2 separate regions of the Homo sapiens genome follow, and region 2 is linked to region 1. Evidence: promoter capture Hi-C in human tissues and cell types (Jung and others, 2019). All regions are on one chromosome and are shown on one strand. Each heading gives the region's core, a stretch centred on a gene start or on the middle of the fragment in contact. The rest is flanking DNA. Distances are from core to core; before and after follow the strand shown. Region 1 holds the start of ZNF90 (zinc finger protein 90). Region 2 has its middle 22 kb from the start of MIR1270.

Region 1 (4,613 bases), core at 170-2,669:
CAAGTGCCTCAAAACAATAACATCATTATCAGTAAGACCCATCCAGTTTCCTTTCATCTTAATCTTAACTGCATCTGCCTGGACAAACTCCATCTCAAAAAAAAAAAAAAAACCCTCCTTTTGCAGGCTTAATATTAGCCTTAGCTCGGAATCACTAGGTTCAAGCTTTAATTTCCATGCCAGAGTTATTCACTGGGTTTTTGAAACTAAGTGTTGGAAAATACAGTGAAGTTACTAAAACACAGTGTTTACATAAAGGATGGAAATTTTAAGATGCTTACTTTTTTTTTTTTTTTTTTTTTTGAGGACTCTCCCTCTGTCGCGCATGCTGGAGCGCGATGGAGGGATCTCAGCTCACTGCAACCTCTGCCTCCCGAGTTCAAGCAATTCTCGGGCCTCAGCCTCCCAAGTTGCTGGGATTACAGGCGCTTGGCACCACTCCAGGCTAATTTTTGTATTTTTAGTAGAGAGAGGTTTCACCACGTTGGATAGGCTGGTCTAGAAATTTGACCACGTGATCCGCCCGCCTCGGCGCCCCAAAGTGCTGAAATTACAGGCAGGAGCCACCGCGCCTGGCCGGGAAGGGGTTATTAGCCCTAATGCAGTTCTGTTTTTGTTTTCCCTCCATTGGCTGGGGTCAGACCGCACAATCTAAGCTGATCCCGGTTGGCTTACACTCAAGCTTTTTCCAAATCGGGTAATGCGCGATTTGTGAGAAAAGGAGAAGGGAGAAGAAGGGGTAGGGGTGATTTACAACTTTTCCAACTTATGACCAGGAAGTTGCGTCTTTGAAGAAGAACTACGTTGTACTAACAACCCTTTACCTCAAGTGATCCGCTCGCCTCGACCTCCCAAAATGCTGGGATTACAGGCATGAACCACAGCGACCGGCCCCATAAGTTTTTAATAGGAGAAAAGAGAAACTGTCAACCCCATGGACCAAAGCTCTTCCCATTCATGAACCTGCACCCCGAGTCAGGATTCTCCCCCGAGAACCCTCCCGTGCTCCCTGCACAATCTGGGAGAGACGCAGCGCTGTGGGTGCAGAGCTGCCCAGAGAGGGCTCCAGGCCAGGGCAGGGAAGAGACAGGACGCCGCGGGGCCCGGCTGTCGGCGCTGTTGCCATCTTATGGCTGAAGGGGACTGAGGCCGAACTGGGCAAGGAGAAGTCGGTCGCAGATTGTGGAGCTGACTGCGGGGAGGCCTAAGTCCCGCCACAGCCACTTCCCATCGGTTCCAACCAGTCCCTCCCCTCTCTCGGAATGCTGGAAAGGCACTCTCACCATTTCTAGGCTTCCGGGGGTCCCTCAGCTGTGGATCTCCCAATACCTGCAGGTCACAGGGCCACAGAGGCTGGAGAAGAAGACACGAAGCAGCTAAGACCAGATTTGGAGCACCAGCTGCAGCAAGAGACAAATGGCCGCGCCAAACCCGAAAGCCTTCCTCTTCGCTCCAGCTGCCTGCATGATTGGACGGTTTCCAACCCAGCGTCCCTGATTGGATAATGCTTAAGGCCCCGCCTCCTCAGTCCCTGAGTGACAGAAGATGTGATCACATGCTGGGCTGAGTGAAGAAAGAGTCACAGCCTCAGCTGCAGCCTTTTCAGGCCGGGCTTCCTCCTTGAGCTGAGCCAGGCCCACCGGAGAGCATGGGAAAATTCTTTTTTACTCTTTCTCTTTTTGAATGTATTCAAAAGGTGAACAGAAGTATTTGGCTGTCATATTAATAATACAAAAAATTTTTGTTCAAGAGAAAACTTTTACTTTGGTAATAGTGTATTATCAATACGAAAGCTAATTTTAATAAAACCTTGTAAGTAAATCAAATTTGTCATTTTTGACCTCTCGAGACTTACATATACATCATATATATTTTGTAATCTAATGTAATTTTTTTAACTTTTTATATTTTATTTTTATCTACATTCTTTTTATTTTTTCAATTTGAAACAACTTTTAAGTAATTTCAAACTGTTATAGGAGACAGAAAGGAAATCATTTAGGGCCAGGCGCGGTGGCTCACGCCTGTAATTCCAGCACTTTGGGAAGCCAAAGAGGGCGAATCACTTGAGGTCAGGAGTTCAAGACCACCCTGGCCAACACGGTGAAACCCCATTTCTACTAAAAATACAAAACCTTACCTGGGCGTGCTGGTGCACACCTGTAGTCCCAGCTACACCGAAGGCTGAGGCAGGAGAATCTCTTGAACCTAGGAGGTGGAGGTTGTGTAACCGCCCAAGGAGTTTACCTTGCCCTTTGCCCAGACAAAACCAATTCATCAAGACAGGGGAATTTGTGGAGGAAAAGTTAAATATTTAATTTGAACTCAATTGAACGTGGACACAAACAATGGTCACCAAGTCCTGGAAGAGGTTGTGTGAGCCCCTTGAGGCGTTCATCCAGTGCTATTTTAGAGAAATCTCTATGTCAATCTATTCAATCTATTCCTATACATTCGTTATTGAAAAACAATAGACAAGGCCGGGCGCGGTGGCTCACGCCTGTAATCTCAGCACTTTGGGAGGCTGAGGCGGGCGGGTCACGAGGTCAGGAGATCAAGACCATGCTGGCTAACACGCTGAAACCCCGTCTCTACTAGAAATACAAAAAATTAGCCAGGCCTGGTGGCAGGCGCCTGTAGTCCCAGCTAGTCGGGAAGCTGAGGCAGGAGAATGGTGTGAACCTGGGAGGCGGAACTTGGAGTGAGCCGAGATCGCGCCACTGCACTCCAGCCTGGGCGACAGAGCGAGACTCCGTCTCAAAAAAAAAAAAAAAAAAGAAAGAAAGAAAAAGAAAAACAATAGACAATCACAAAAACAAGTTGACCTTTCTGTGTTCCTTGAGACCAGTCATGAAGGGCCCTGGTGACTAGGCCTCATGCTGAACAACTCGTTACAAAAAGAGCTAGGTTCCCAGACCGCGCAGAAGCGTCATTATACCTCTCCTGGTCTGTGCACCGATGGGTGGCCAACTCTGGAGCCCATCCTGTTGCTTTCCGGTCTGGTGGTGAATCCTCCATAGTCTGGTGTGGAGTCAAAGTTAAATAATAAATTTGTGCTAATTGAACGTGGACACAAACAATGGTCACCAAGTCCGGGAACAGGTTGTGTGAGCCCCTAGAGGCGTTCATCCAGCGCTGTTTCAGAGAAATCTGTATTTCAATCTATTCCTATACATTCGTTCTTGAAAAACAACAGACAATCCCAAAAACAAGTGACCTTTTTGTGTTTCTTCAGCTCAGTCGCGAAGGGTCCTCATGACTAAGCCTCGTGCCAAACAACTCATTACAAAAGAGCTAGGGTCCCAGACTGCGCCAAAGCTTCGTGACAGCTCTCCTCACCTGTGCACAATTGTTAGCTTGCTATTGGACTTTACTGGAAACAAAACACCTCTGCTTTAACCATGATGTCTTTATGAGGCCTAAATTTCCTGTTATGATTTAGGTCACGAGTTCCCTCAAAATCCACAGGAGGCCAAGATGTGTGGATCACGAGGTCAGAAGTTTGAGACCAGGCTGGCCAACATGATGAAACCCCATCTCTACTAAAAATACAAAAACTAGCCAGGTGTGGTGGCATGCATCTATAATCCCAGCTACTCAGGGGGCTGAGGCAGGAGAATCACTGGAATCCCAGGAGGCAGAGGTTGCAATGAGCTGAGGTCTCACCACTGCACTCCAGCCTATGTGACAGACTGAGACTCCATCTCAAAAACAAACAACCGAAAAACATAACCATTTCTGATGAAGAAAGGGGTGGGAGCAGCCAGTTAACTGAACTAGTAGACATCCTCTGAGCTCTTCGAAAGGAAGGAAGAAGGATTTGTCACTTGTATACCAACTCTTGCTCAGTAGCAAATGGTCTTACTACCTGGATGCCCCAATGACAACAAAACAAATGGTTAATTGGGAATAAAGAGGTATGGGGAAAACAATACTGGGAAGATACATGAATTCTGGTACACACTACCATTATCATTGTTTTCCTGTATTAATTAATTTATTTTTTTTGACACGGAGTCTAGCTCTGTCACCAGGCTGGAGTACAGTGGCTCAGTCTCGGGTCACCAGGCTTGAGTGCAGTGGCTGAGTCTCAGCTCACTGCAACCTCTGCCTCCCAGGTTCAAGTGATTCTCCTGCCTCAGCCTCCCGAGTAGCTGGGATTACAGGCATGCACCGCCACGCCCAGCTAATTTTTGTACTTCTCTAGTAGAGGCGGGGTTTCACTGTGTTCACCAGGGTGGTCTCAATCTCCTGACCTCGTGAACAACCCACCTCAGCCTCCCAAATTGGTAGAAGTACAGGCTTGGGCCACCACTCCTGGATCTGTTTTCCATGATGATGCTCATGCATCTCTGCTTTTCTTGACAGACTATTTAATCAGCAGGAAGATCGACAGGCCAAAATTTCCACCATAAATGCAAATTTGAATGTGGATGAATGGATTACAATGTGTTCAAGCCTTGCAATGAGAGGCATTATAGTGTTTGGTGGTATAATTGATGGTGATTACTGGGGAGAGTTAAAGGTTGTTTTATACAATACCACTCCAGATTCTTTTGCTATAAAACCACAAATGTGGGTTGCTCAATTATTAGTGGTACCTTGTCAACAAT
Region 2 (4,613 bases), core at 785-3,284, 300 kb before region 1:
GTGTGTTGATTCCTCACAGAACTAAAAGCAGAATTATCATTTGACCCAGGGATCTCATCATTGGGTATATACCCAAAGAAATATAAATTATTATATTATAAAGACACATCCACATGTATGTTCACTGCAGCACTATTCACACTAGCAAAGATAAGGACAGGCCCTAAATGCCTATCGATGGTAGACTGAATAAAGAAAATATGGTAATATGGTATGGTCATATGCGGTGGCTTATGCCTGTAATCCCAGCACTTTGGGAGGCGGAGGCAAGTGAATTGCCTGAGCTTAGAAGTTTGAGACCAGCCTGGGAAACATGGCAAAATCCTGTCTCCACGGAAAGTGCAAAAAGAAAAATTGGCCAGGCTTGGTAATGCCTGTGTGTAGTCCTAGCTTCTTGGGAGGATGAGGTAGGAGAGAATTGCTTGAGCCTGGGAAGTTGAGGCTAAAGTAAGCCAATATCATGCCTTGGCACTCTAGCCTGGGCAATAAGCTTGTCTCCAAAAATAAAATAAAAAATTTAGTAAAAACAAAAATTTACTAAACAAAATTTAGTAAAAACGAAACATCATGGAATACTGGGTGGCCACACACACACACAAAAAATGACCATGTCCTTTGCAATAACATTGATGAAGGTGGAGACCAACATTCTTAGAAAACTAACGCAGAGGCCAGGCGATGGCTCAGGCCCATAATCCCAGCACTTCAAGAGGTCGATTTGGGCGGATCACCTGAGGTCAGGAGTTTGAGATTAGCCCGACCGACATAGAGAAACTGTGTCTCTACTAAAAATACAAAATTAGCTAGGAGTGGTGGCGCCCTCCTGTAATTTCAGCTACTCAGGAGGCTGAGGCAGGAGAATTGTTGGAACCCAGGAAACGAAGTTTGCAGTGAGTCGAGATCATACCATTGCACTCCAGCTTAAACAACAAGATCAAAACTCCTTCTCAAAAAAACAAAACAAAACAAAAAAAAGAAAACTAATGCAGAAACAGAAAGCCAAATGCATGTTATTATTTATAAGTAAGAGCTAAATAATAAGAACACATGAACACAAAGAGGAGAACAGGCCAGACACAGTGGCTCATGTCTGTAATCCCAGCACTTTGGGAGGCCAAGGCGGGCAGATCACAAGGTCAAGAGATAGAGACCATCCTGGCTAACGCAGTGAAATCCTGTCTGTATTAAAAATACAAAAAATTAGCCAGGCATGGTGGAGGGCGCCTGTAGTCCCAGCTACTCAGGAGGCTGAGGCAGCAGGATAATGGTGTGAACCCAGGAGGCAGAGCTTGCAGTGAGCTGAAATGGCACCACTGCACTCCAGCCTGGGAAAGAGTACGAGACTCGGTCTCAAAAATAAAAATAAAAAAAAGAGAGAGAGAGAAACAGACACTGAGGCCTAGTTGAGGGTGGAGTATGGGACGACTCAGAGGATCAGAAAACATACCTGTTTGGTGCTACAGGTAGTAACTCAGGGACAAAATAATCTGCACACCAAACCCCATGACATAGCTGTGTAACAAACCCACATGTGTACCCCAAACCAAAAATAAGAGCTAAAAGAAAAAAAATTCCTGGGTCGGGGAGATTGCAATGTAGGTAAGTGGACTGATTTTCGCTACAGATAGTGGCCCAGTGGGGCTGTACTCTGATTTATTTCTGTGTGAATGCAGGCAGACGAGATTGTGAAAAGCAGGTCCAGAACCCTAGGTTGGTGGAGAAAACAGGTTGCTGCTGCAGATTCGGTGTCCAGGGAGGGGGATATGCCAGATTTGTAGAGACTTGTGGGTTCTTGGCAAGAAACTCTTGGATCAAAAATGCCGTGGTGAAGTTCCTGAGGGTGGTGCCTAGTCCTGGGAGGAGTGTGGACATGTCAATGTCTAGTGTGTGTGTTTGTGAGTGGGTGGGAATCCTGTGGTAACAGCTGCAAGAAAAGGGGGTCTGTCATCAGCGCTCCTTTCCTCTAAGTTTTCAGTCCCATTCCCAAACACCCAGAATTTTATTCCAGGCCAGGGCTCCATGATATCTTTTTTCTGGCACCAAATCTGTAGTTTGCTGAACATCAAATAATTCTCCAACACCAACTCATTGTCTAACATTTGAAATCTGACACCACCCAGAGTCAGCACAGACCCTGATTCAGGGCTCAGTTCCACAACATTGTCCTCACTGCAGATGCCAGTCACAAACCCCATGGGCCCATCTATGCTTCTGAGCTGCTGCTTAAAAACTGGGGACTCCCATAACCTCCCTGAAGTTGAATAATTGGGTAGAGCTACTCACAGAACTCAGCAAAACACTGTAGTTACGTTTACCGGTTTCATATATATAAAATGCAGCCCAGGAAAAGCCAAATGGAAGAAATGCATAGAACAAAGAAAAGAGATGGGGAAAGATGAAACACAAAATCATAAAAAATATTTGCGATTAATAAAATTCTACATCCTTTGTGTGCTCCAGTAACAGTTTGTGGAAAGAAACACTCTTCCCATTACGACTTAGATAATGCTCTCTTTTCTTACTTATCACAATGCCAGATACACACTCTGCATATTTTCTCCTTATTCTCATTAAAACAATCAGCTGAGTTTGTCTTCAGTGGCCAAAATAAATTATTATTATTTTTGAGATGGAGTCTCACTCTGTCGCCCAGGCTGCAGTGCAGTGGTGCCATCTCTGCAGTGCAGTGGTGCCATCTCGGCTCACTGCAATCTCCGCCTCTCAGGTTCAAGCAGTTCTCCCACCTCAGCCTCCTGAGAATCTGGGATTGCAGGCACCCACCATGACCACCAGCTAATTTTTGTATTTTTAGTAGACACAGTGTTTCACCTTGTTGACCAGACTGGTCTCAAACTCCTGACCCCACCTTATTCAATATTTTGATTATCTTCTTTGCAGCCCCTCTTACTAATGTTCCCAGCAGGCTACTATCCTGCTTCCTGAACATTTCTACTCAAAAGTGTACTGAGAATGCCCCTCCAGGTCACAAATTGGTGGAATGTCATCAGTTAAGGCAGGAACTGGCTGTTTTCACTTCTTTTGTGATTCTTCACTTGCTTCAGGCCATCTGGATGTATATGTGTGGGACACAGGGGATATGACGGCTTAGCTTGGGCTCAGAGGCCTAATAGTCTTGAACTCCTGACCTCAAGTGATCAACCTGCATTGGCCTCCCAGACTGCTGGGATTACAGGCATGAGCCACAGTACCTGGCTAAGTTGCTTGCATTTTACACCTCCATAAGAAAAGCAAATATATCTACTTTTTTCAGACAATATATGTATTATTTTATTATTTCTATTAAAAATTATGCAGTAAAAGATTAGTCACATGGGAACACGTGTAGAAGGTACTGTTATAAAGTTTCGGTGCGGCTAAAGAAATAGCACTCAAATATAACATTTTCTTTTTAATTCTCAGCAAGCCGAGGTACTTCTATAGAAGGGTGCACCCTTACAGATGGAGCAATGGTGAGCGCATACCCGGACAAGGGAGGTAAAGGGGTTCTTATCTTTGATGCACGTGGACCCTGCTGCTGTGTCTTTCCCCTATTGGCTAGGGTTAGACCAGACAGGCTAAACTCATTCCGATTGGCTAATTTAAAGAGAGTGACGGGGTAAGTGGTTTGGTAGGAAAAAGTGGTTATGCCGGGTGGAGAATGAGTCAGAGCAGAGCAGGTAGCAGGTAATGGGAATGAGTCAGGGTGGAGCAGGTAATTGAAAAAGGTTGCTTTATGAGGAAGTTAAGCTTAAAAGTAGAAGGCAAAGAATTGAACATACTGACATATTGATTCTTTGAGAAGAAATTTAGAAGTCATATCTAACAACCCCTCCTCTTGCATTTCCTTACAGCCCTTTCTTTTCAAATTTTTTTTAACATGTCTTGGCTTAGTTGTTCTGCTTGATTTTCCAAAAGAAGCTTCTATGGATAAGGTGGTGGATAATTAAGGGAGGTTTTAGTAAGTGCTGTTTTTATAAGCCTCTGCACCAACTCACGGAGTCATGGTGTGACACAGCACCTGACAAGATGAAGTATACCCATTACGTCTGCAAGGGAAGTAAGAATTTAGGCTATTATTTTTTTCCATTTACTGAACCACTTTTCTAGCCATCTTGTAAAGGGGTCATTTACACTTGAATTGTTGGCTAACTCATTGGACAGAGCAGTCAGACCTTGCAATGCCTTTGTTGTATTTCCATCAGGGGCAGTGTTGTCTGGGATGAAGGTACAACATTGAGTTTTAATCATGATGCAAACTCCTTCTCTGTATGTTAATATTATGTCTAAGGCTATTCTATTTTTCCCAAGCCGTCTGGCTAATAGGCCCTAATTGCTCAGCTATTCCTTTAACAGCATTTCTAGTGCAGTTAATAAATCGCTGTTGGTTGTAATAGATGTAGTTTATCCAATCTACATTTATTAATTGCCACCCACCAAAATATTGACTCAAATCTTGCAGCTATTTGATTTTGGGCTTTTTTTTTTTTTTTCAAGATGGAGTCTCGCTCTGTTGCCCAGGCTGGAGTGCAGTGGCACGATCTCGGCTCACTGAAAGCTCCACCTCCTGGGTTCATGCCATTTTCCTGCCTCAGCCTCCCCAGTAGCTGGGACTA

Evidence for each region. The method cuts DNA at HindIII sites, captures the fragments that hold promoters and counts their contacts. A contact is called where the count stands out against the background at its distance.
Region 2: a contact is called between a fragment that was not itself captured here and the fragment with the promoter of ZNF90 in region 1, in 2 of the 25 tissues and cell types used here (H1 embryonic stem cells and thymus).

Annotation. Positions count from the first base shown.
Region 1 is chr19:20,074,806-20,079,418 of GRCh38, reverse strand. It overlaps ZNF90 (zinc finger protein 90), which reads right to left and starts at 1,419. Exons shown (of 4, transcript NM_007138.2): 1 at 1,284-1,419. The coding sequence starts at 1,286. RefSeq lists an enhancer at 997-1,476. The HindIII fragment of the contact is 4,387 bases long and covers 425-4,613 here.
Region 2 is chr19:20,374,817-20,379,429 of GRCh38, reverse strand. No RefSeq gene overlaps it. Among named protein-coding and RNA genes, the nearest start is that of MIR1270, 22 kb to the left of the region's middle. The HindIII fragment of the contact is 5,069 bases long and covers 1-4,568 here.